Linked DNA regions of Homo sapiens: regions 2 and 3 are each linked to region 1. The links are contacts of gene promoters, found by promoter capture Hi-C in blood cells and fetal thymus (Javierre and others, 2016). All regions are on one chromosome and are shown on one strand. Each heading gives the region's core, a stretch centred on a gene start or on the middle of the fragment in contact. The rest is flanking DNA. Distances are from core to core; before and after follow the strand shown.

What was found. The method cuts DNA at HindIII sites, captures the fragments that hold promoters and counts their contacts. A CHiCAGO score of 5 or more calls a contact.
Region 2: a contact is called between a fragment that was not itself captured here and the fragment with the promoter of EHBP1-AS1 in region 1, in 1 of 17 cell types (megakaryocytes). The highest score is 5.9, in megakaryocytes.
Region 3: a contact is called between a fragment that was not itself captured here and the fragment with the promoter of EHBP1-AS1 in region 1, in 1 of 17 cell types (megakaryocytes). The highest score is 7.0, in megakaryocytes.

Annotation. Positions count from the first base shown.
Region 1 is chr2:63,046,989-63,050,096 of GRCh38, forward strand. It overlaps EHBP1-AS1 (EHBP1 antisense RNA 1), which reads right to left and starts at 1,533. Exons shown (of 4, transcript NR_033389.1): 1 at 1,401-1,533. It also overlaps a transcript of OTX1 not described here. RefSeq lists enhancers at 845-1,593, 1,572-2,980, 1,594-2,343, 2,344-3,091. The HindIII fragment of the contact is 1,878 bases long and covers 73-1,950 here.
Region 2 is chr2:63,498,654-63,501,761 of GRCh38, forward strand. All of the region lies in intron 1 of WDPCP (WD repeat containing planar cell polarity effector), which reads right to left. Among named protein-coding and RNA genes, the nearest start is that of WDPCP, 88 kb to the right of the region's middle. The HindIII fragment of the contact is 2,318 bases long and covers 271-2,588 here.
Region 3 is chr2:62,775,272-62,778,379 of GRCh38, forward strand. All of the region lies in intron 5 of EHBP1 (EH domain binding protein 1), which reads left to right. Among named protein-coding and RNA genes, the nearest start is that of EHBP1, 71 kb to the left of the region's middle. The HindIII fragment of the contact is 1,740 bases long and covers 688-2,427 here.

The DNA.
Region 1 (3,108 bases), core at 283-2,782:
CTACAGAAAAAAAAAAAAAGCGATTCTATGCTAGTTTCCTTCATTCCCCCACAGGGGTGTCCAAACAAAGAAAGCTTGTTCAACAAGTCCAGAAACTTAGAGAAAAAAGTCCACTAGCATTTATACTTCAGCGTAGATCGTATGTATGTGCACACAAACAAATTTCGTTCCAAGTATGCAGCCACCTCCAGTTGCCAGTCTTTCAAAATGATAAAAACTTGCTACGGTAGAATTCCTTCATGATGAGCATTTCTTTTAAGTTATTGAAAAGTTATTTTAAGTAAATGAAGTCGGTATTTGCCCTCTTTATTCGAGCACGAGAGCAGAGAGAGAGCTGCTGCTCTCTGGGGAACGCTCTCAGAATCCCGTTCTAACCCCGGGAAAACTCAGCAGACAGAAATCGCCCGCCCCAAGCAGCCTGGGGCCTGGGCGGCCAACAGCACCCACCCAGTTTACGCTTGATTCGAGGAACCTTCACTCCCGAGGGGCCTCGCCGAAAAGCAGCTCCTTCGCTCCCGAAGCCGCTCCCAATCGGCCAACTGACAACCCTTCCCTCGCCCCAGATTTGCTAGGATGGTCTGGGACCGCCGGGCGGCCCCTCTACCTGCCCCTTCAGCTTTAGTCCCGAGCCTCTCGGGGTTTCAATTTGGGCTGCTCGGTGGCGCCCGAACGCCCCTCAGCGGCGGTGGAGCGTGGACTCCGGCGCCTGGCGGGGTAAGGCCCGCGGCAAGGGCGCTGCATCCGGACATCGCTGCGTGGTGCCCAGACGCTGGCTCCCGAGAACGGGCACGAGCCCAGCACGCCGGAGGACCCGGAACTCGAAAGCCCGCGCTGCGGGAAAAGAGACTATCGGTCCGAGGGTCGCAGAGGAGCAGGGGCGTTGGCAGCGGGCTTGCTTGGGCACAGTCTGCGGGCCGGAGCAGAACTTCCGCCCCTGGTCAGATCCCTCGGCCTCAGATCCAAAGCCCTCCCCTTGTCCCAAGTGTCCTCCAGAGCCTGGCCGGGCCTGGAGGTCACCTGGATGCTGGATCCTTGTCTCCACACCCAGCTCCCTCGCCCCTTCCCGGCTCGAGGGCCTTGAGCTGGACGGCTTCACCTCCTCCAGTGGTGTCCCCACTTCCCCTTCCCGCACCGCGGCCGATGCTGGAACGGTCATGGCTTCTGGCCCAGCATCTCCCACCTGGACATTTGCCTAGCGACGGCCGCCTCAATCCTCTGCGCTGCTTTCAAGAAACTTTCATCCCAGTCTCTCTCCCTCTCCACTCTCCTCCCTCTCCCCCTCTCCTCTTTCTTTTCTTAATCCTGGGGTTTTATGGGCTGAGCGTTAAGAAAATTCGCCTGCAATTTGGGATTAGATAAATACTCTAATTAGGAAAAAAAAAATCCGTGCTACTTGATACCTCCCAACTTCCCCGAGAATGGTGGCAGCATCTGGAACCGAGAGCGCCGGCCTCCCGCGAGGCGTACCCCGGGGACCGCGCTGGCACATTCCAGAGCGCACTGCCGTCCCACCTCGCTGCGCCGGACCCAGGTCAGGTGCTGAGGCTGCAGGCGAAACAGGGCCTGGTGGAGGGAGGAATGAGTTAAGGTGGAGGAATGGGGCAAGGTCACGCGCCCCGGCACTGGAGGGCCAACCCCGGCACACAGCGGACTGGCCGGGACTAGGGCAGCGCCGGGCTATGGACGCGGACGCCGGCGAAGCGCACCCCGGGACGTCCGCATATTCTTTCCCCCAAAACTAGTGCGCTCCAGCCGGCGCCTTTCCTCGGAACCTAAGGAAGGGGTATATTTCGTTGCTTTCTTTAAACCTCAGCACGATCACAGTGGCTCCGAGCCGCGGGCGGCTGACCGCGGGCCTCGCGGGCTACTCCTGGTAGGGGCCTGCGCGAGCCTAAGGTGTGTCCCCGCCTGGGTTAGCGCTGCGCTCTGCACTGTTTCTTTTCCTCTTAAAGCTTCTTTCTCACTCACTCTCTCCCTCCTTCTCTCTCTCATTTTTTCCCCATTTCTCTCGTTCTTTTATTCAGCTTTCTCTCTTTCTCTCCCTTTTGTGAATGGGCCGCGGTGTCTTTGTTCTGTAGAGAAGCGCCCGTGTCGCTGACTTTTGTGAACCAGAGAAGGATCTTGTAAAACCTCCTTTTCTCCTTCGTACGCCCCCACTCCCACCCCTCCTCCCCTGCCTCTTTGATTAGATGTTCCCTCATCGTCAAAAAAAAAATGTAATTTCGTTGGTCTGGCGGCCACTTTCTTTGAACATTAGCTCGCTTTCAGCTCCAACTTCAATTAGAAGGAGTTGATTTTGAGAGATCAACAAAAGAACCGACCAAAGCCTTATTAAAGGTCCTAAGAAGATCTCCCGGGTCCTTTGAGAAGCAGTTAAGGAAACAGTGTGCCCTCCATCATATTCTGTTACCGTATTTTATTCGGACTCCAAAGGAAAGTGTCGCTTGGGGGAGGGGGAAGCACTTTGATGAGCGGCGGCCGCGGCCCCTTTTCACTCAGCGGGCTCCCCCTTCGTTCTCCTCCTCCTCACCCAGCGCCCGGTCCGCTCTCGGCGCCCGACCCCGCAGCCCGGGCAGCGCGAGTGCTCCCCACTGCGATGCGCCTGGAGGCTCCTTGACTTGCCCTCACACTTAATCCTGTGCAAACTTTTTACCCCGCCTGTCGGGGTGGGGGAGTGGGGGAGATTAGAAACAAGGGGTAGAAATTCCTCGAAAGGGAATAAAGTGCCTAATTTTCAGGAGGAGGTGCCATTTAAAAGATTCGCCTAGCTTAGAGTTGGAACGAAAACTCTTTTTTGCACTTTTAAAAGTCCACCCAGGTAGACGTGTTTGGGAAGTTTTTTCGGGTGGGAAATGGGCTTCGCCCGTACGAACAATCCGGGGAAATCGCCTCAAGGAGGATCCTTACGCAGCATGTGGAAAAAAGTTGAGGGCAGGGGTCTGTGGCCACATTTTCCATCAAAAAGTCCCTGTTAGAGGCAGTCTAAGAAAGAGAGAGAAAGAGCGAAAAAGAAACTTTCCTATCAAAATGTTTCAATTAAGAAGTAGGGTGTACGTGTGAGGGGAAGAGGACGCTGGGCTCCAACGTTTCAGTAGAAGCGCTTAAGAC
Region 2 (3,108 bases), core at 180-2,679, 450 kb after region 1:
CAAAATACCTGTACTCTGCCCGGGTAAAGTATGCTATGCAGTTCCCCGGTTTCTTAAGTCAGCTATTTTGGTAGCCATGGGAAGGACAGGAAGCTTGAGGGCAAAGAAAACCCAAATGTGAAACATGATAGCAAAGAAAGAATTAAGAAATAGAAGACATTGCTGTAGTTATAATAAGGATAAATGATAGCATGGCATCCATAAGACATTTAACATGGAGGTATATGAGCAGAAGACTGCAAAGAACCTAAGGTAAATAAGGAGACCTCAAGCTTGGACTAACCTATTGTACCCAAAGAATGGAGTACTAGAAACAATGGCTCATTTGTACCTCACAGGGCCTTATGAGATCTAAATACCAATTAAATATCACAATTTGAGCACTTTATGTATATGTTTACTGAGTCATAGATACAAAGTTTTATAGAATGGGCCTCTACTATCAAACACCATATAATCAGGGTAGCAGATAAAATAATCACAAAAACAATACGAAGTGTGTAGTAAGTGCTAATATGGTAACATACACAATGGGCTAGGGGGGTTCAAAGGGCATTTGAGGATTGTCAGATTTTGCTAGAGGGAAATAGATAAAAAGGAGGGAACAATACCCAAAAGAATAAATTAGAAAGATGCAAGGCTTATTTGAGGAATAATAAGCAATCTGGTTTGATGCACAGGTAGAAGAGATAAATCAGAGCCATAATAAGGAAGTCTTTGCCAAGCTCAGGAATTAGGACTTTGTATTTGCTAGGTAGCTAATTAGGAACAATGAAGTTTCTGATCTGGGAAGGTATTTTTAAAAAGAATAATTAATAGATCAGAATTATTGTTGGAAGATTAACTGGTGGGTAAAATATTGGAGGAGTGAAGGAAAGTTTGATATGAGTGACCTGTTAGAAAGGTATTAAAGGAACAGACAACACTAATATTCAGTAACAAGGACCTGAATTGGGGTGGTGGCAGCTGGAATATAACAAAAGAAAGGGATGTAAGTGATCTTGTAAAGAAAGAATCGACAGCATATGGGCACTGATGATTTGTAAGAGACAGTGTAAGGGAGTAAGAGAGAAGAATCTGGAGTGACCATCAATGGATGGGGATCTGGTTACTGCTCATATAGTGACCCTTGCCTTGACCATGCCGTCACTGAACAGGCATGCCTGCATCATCATGTGCCCAGTAAATGGGTACCAGTGCATTCCATCTGTTCACAATGACTGCCTCAACTACTGAACCCACACACATCAATGTTCCTAGCTACTAACCTGGCTACGTGGTCTCCTGTTTTACTTCTGCCTTGCCCCTCAGTTTGTAACTCTGGCTCTTCTTCTTAAACTGTGATTCAACTTCTTCATCCTGTCAAAGGACCCATGAATACTGTTCTTCTTGGCCACATCAAGTTCCCAGGAACCCCTTACCCAGACTTGTTCCCACCTAGTTGATCCTAGTTTCAAGGGCAGGACTTGGATTGAAACACACATAGAAACAGGTTAGTCTAGAAGAAGAGCAAGTTTTGTTAATAAGTTGAATTTTAGACTCAGTGGGAGATAAAGGTACAAGGAAATGCTCTGGGTAGATATGTCTAGCTGGTAGCTAGAAATACAGAAGAGAGGCCTGGACTACATAAAAACTACTTTGGAATTTTCTAAATAGAGAGTAAAGCCATTGAGTAAGATCACAGAAGAAAAATAAAGTCAAAGATAGATAGTCTGGTAATTCTCCAATAAAGAGTCAATTTAAAAGACAGACTAAGATAATATAGTGTCAAGAAAGCCTTGAAAGAGAAAATGGTGTGGGGGTGTGTGTGTGTGTGTGTGTGTGTGTGTAAAGTGGTTATACAGTGATCAAACTTGTTGGTTCTGAATTTTAATGCAGAGATGACCTCAATATGATTTAATGAGAAGTAATGTTTTATCAAGTACATAGAGGTTAAGTCTGCTAAAGGTGTGGTTCTACTGTTCTGAATGCTGGGCTGTAAGCCAAAAATGCCTTCATTCTAATCCTGCTATGACAAACTTACTCCAAATCATTTAACCTCTGCCTCAATTTCCCCACCTGCAAAAACAGGGATAATGATATTGACCTACATTTGTAACGGTGTTGTAAGGATTAACTAGTGTGTATAATGCTTTGAAGATTAAAAGTGCTGAGCATTATTAGTGAGTATTACATAACTAATTGTCTATAATACTAAAAATGTTATCCTTTAAGTTTAGGCAAATAGCAGTTATCAAATAAATGTTCTAGCTCCCTTAGTGACATTTAGCTTCTAATGTTAATATTAAATTTATTATTGAATGTGTATCTAGATCTATTTTACAACTGTCATCTCATGGCATATAAAGTTCTAAATCAGTTCAGAAGCCTAGGACACTTTTTCAACCTAAATATTAAATGTAAGTATTCAGGACATATTTATTTGAAAATGAGCACCCACTGCAAGTATTCAATAAATACCAAAGGTAGTATTTTTAATTATAAAATTTCAGATTTACCAAAAACACTAAGCAACTAAATAGAAGCAAAATGCAAAAAGCACAAAGCATTATGTTCAAAATACTATCTAAGTCCCTATTTTTAAAACAAGCTTTAGAACCTAAAAGTGTGCAAAAAATGAAGAGAGAAAGCCAGGTGCAGAGGCTTACATCTATAATCCAAGGACTTTAGGAGGCCGAGGTAGAAGGATTGCTCTAAGTCAGGAGTTCAAGATCAGCCTGGGCAACATAGTCAGACCCTGTCTCTACAAAAAATAAATAAAAATTAGGCAGGTGTGGTGGCACCTGCCTGTACTCCTAGCTACTCAGGAGGCTGACAGAGGAGGATGGCTCAAGACCAGGAGTTGGAGAGTGCAATGAGCTATGGTCCTGCCACTGCACTCCAGCCTAGATGACAGAGCAAGACCAAGTTTCAAAAAAACAAAAAACTTTTAAATGCATTAGGCCTCTGTCTGGTCCTTTGTTTGTTTCTTTCTTTTTTGGAGATGGAGTTTCACTCTTGTCAGCCAGGCGGGAGTGCAGCGGCGCGATCTCAGCTCACTGCAACTTCCACCTCCCGGATTCAGGCAATTCTCCTGCCTCAGTCTCCCAAGTATCTGGGATTACAGGC
Region 3 (3,108 bases), core at 308-2,807, 270 kb before region 1:
ATGAAATTGACTTTTGCTGATCATTATGTAGCAATAACATGTTACAATGTTATACTTTCCCTTACATTTTAATGTGCTTTCACATTTCATGCAAAAGAATTAGTGAATTTCAAAGAGCTAAAGTTCTTCTCTTTGTCTTGTAAAACCTCGGTTTTGTTAGAAATTCTGTTGGTATATTGTCCTGACACTGAAAAGGTATGCTCTTTGAATGGAATTGTAATACCTTTCTTTTCTTTGCACATTGTGTTACAACCCCACAGTTAATAAAGAAATGTTGAGACTTTAACCGTAATGTCCAGTAGTAGCATTAGTAACAAAGAGTGAAGTTATATTTAATATAAAATATCCCAATAAAACAGAAGTCTCCAAATATATATCACTGTAACAAATTTATTGGACCCTTACTATGTACCAGGTACTATGTATAATAGAATGCTTTATACACATTATCTCATTTGCTCATTATAATAACTCTGGTGTGAGTCAGATATAACCCTATTTTACAGGTAAAGAAAGTGAGGTTTAGAGAGGTTAAGTAACTTGCCCACAGTTATATAGCTAACAGGTTGGGATTTTATCCAGTCTTGTCTTTCTCCAGGGCCTTTGCCCTTAACCCCTACTGCAATAACTAGCTACCTTAATAAGAAAGATGAAAAGAGATCATTTGAAATTGTAGAATCATAGGGAAGCTTTTAATCAGTCTTCTGTAGTGGTAAGTCTGTGAAGAATATATGTATCAGATTAGTGAAGGTAGTCTTTAATTATTGTTTATATACAGTTTAGAAGTTATTTGGGTTAATTATTTCACTACTGTTAGACATTATAAAATGGAATTCTAGAATTTATCAGTCACTAGAATTCTTAATATTTTTTCTCAAGGCAACCTTACTGCTTCTTTGTGCAAATTGACATAATGCTATTTTCATTTTATTGGTTCTCTTGTTTCTGATTTCTCCGTTTTGTCTGAGCTTTCTTCTTTGGACCAGAAACTTTAGAGTTGAAATTTTAGAGGTGGTTCTGCCACTTACTGGCTATGCAACCTTAGATAAGTCATTTAATATTTCACAGCTTCCATGTAGTCATGTATAAAATGATGGTATTAATATCTACTCCACAGGTTATTGAAGATTGGAAATAATGTATGTAAAGCATCTAGCTTGGTAAGGAGTAGCTATTTTTATAATGTTCCTTTCTAGAGGACACAGAAGAATATAAAGGAAAGAAAACTAGATTTCTAAATTTTATTGTTGCAGGATTTTAGTTTTTCCATTCCTTTCTACCACTTACACCTCTCAATGATTTCTAGACTTTACTGTTATCTCAAAGCAATGACAAGGCAACTTGTAACATCTCACTTGGACTAAACTTAAAATATTTTTCTTTTTATCTTTTGATTTAGGATATCTTCCCCTTATAAATTTAATCTAGGATTAACAACAAGTATTTCTTTTGGATCATTTACAATCCATTTACTTATTAGTGTAGATAAGAATGGATACTATAAAACACTATGTTTCATTTTTATCTACTGTAATAGAATAACATCTGTTCATCCAGACAGTTGACATTGTAGGGTTTTTTAAAAATATGAAGCCACAACAGTTATATTTAGGAAACAAAATTTTTTTTCTCTTCCTGGTGTTTTAGATTACCCAATTAAATCCAGAACCATTACATTTGTAAATTATATCCATAGGTTTTAGTTTCTTGTTTTTACATTTGAGACAAGGTCTTGCTCTGTCACCCAGGCTAGAGTGCAGTGTTGTGATCATGGCTCACTGCAACCTTGAACTCCTGGGCTCAAGCGATCGTCCTGCCTCAGCCTCCCCAGTAGCTGAGACTACAGGTGCACACCATTATACCTTGCTAATTTTCTATTTTGTAGAGACGGAGTCTCCCTTTGTTGACTAGGCTGTTTTGAACCGCTGAGCTCAAGCAGTACTCCCACCTCGGCCTCCCAGAGTGTTGAGATTACAGGCATGAGCTACCACACCCAGCTGGTGTTGGTTTTTAAAATCTAAAAAAATTTATTTTTCTGATTCCACTGTTTTATTTTAATACATTAAAAGCATATTGATGAAAGGCACCAATCAGATTGAATCCATTCATTAATTTATTCAACCATTCTGCAATATTTTAATATGGATTTTCTATATGCCCAGACATTTGGTGGTTATTGAAGATACAAAGTCAGTTAAGACATGCAGAATTTTGATTCTGAGATTCATGGTTTTTTCTCCCACATTTTTTTCTGTGAAATTGGGATCATCTTATATCTAGGATGTCCCACAGTTATAACTGGTAGTTTTTTGTTTGTTTGTTTGTTTTGCTTTCTTACTGCTATATAAAATAATGACTGCTATATAAAATAATCTTTAAACCAATGATAACTTATATTTGATGACATAAGATAACCTGTCCTCAAGAAGCTTATAAAGTAGTGAAGTGTCAGAGAGGTAAAGAACTGCAAGGAAAAACATAAAAATGTTCGTAGGGTACTACAGGACAGTAATGGAGGGCAGAGTTGGAATAATTCCTGGAGGAAGTGGCTACAGAGTTTAGTCTTGAAGGAAAAAGGAAGTTAGGCAAAAAAGGCATTCTAAGTAGCGGAAAGAAATAGCAAAAGTAACTGAAAGAGGAAAAACAAAACCAACAGAAAACATGAGCTCCCCCATTAAAGATTAATAGACATCTGCTTTTTGTTTTGTAACTGTTAACCCAATGAATGTAATAATAGGCATAAGATTAACTTGGTTCTTCGTCCTCCGTGAAGATCAGTGGGGTATCAAAATGTGTTTTCTTGGTGCTACCTATTCACTATGCAGTCTTTCCCACTATTTCTGACTGTGACCCATGAGATAGGAAGTTCGGCTCCTCCAGGGCTCCACTAGTCCCTTTTTTATTGCTGTTTGTTTGATGTTACCTCCGGAAGACTTTTAAGTGAATGGCGATGGGCTAAATTAATTATGTTAATTCCAAGGCAGATGGCTGGACCTGGTAGCACACGCCTGAATCTTAACACTTTGGGAGCCCGAGGTGGAAGTATTGCTTGAGCTCAGGAGTTCAAGACCACCATGGGCAATATAATATAGTGAGACCTTTTCTCTA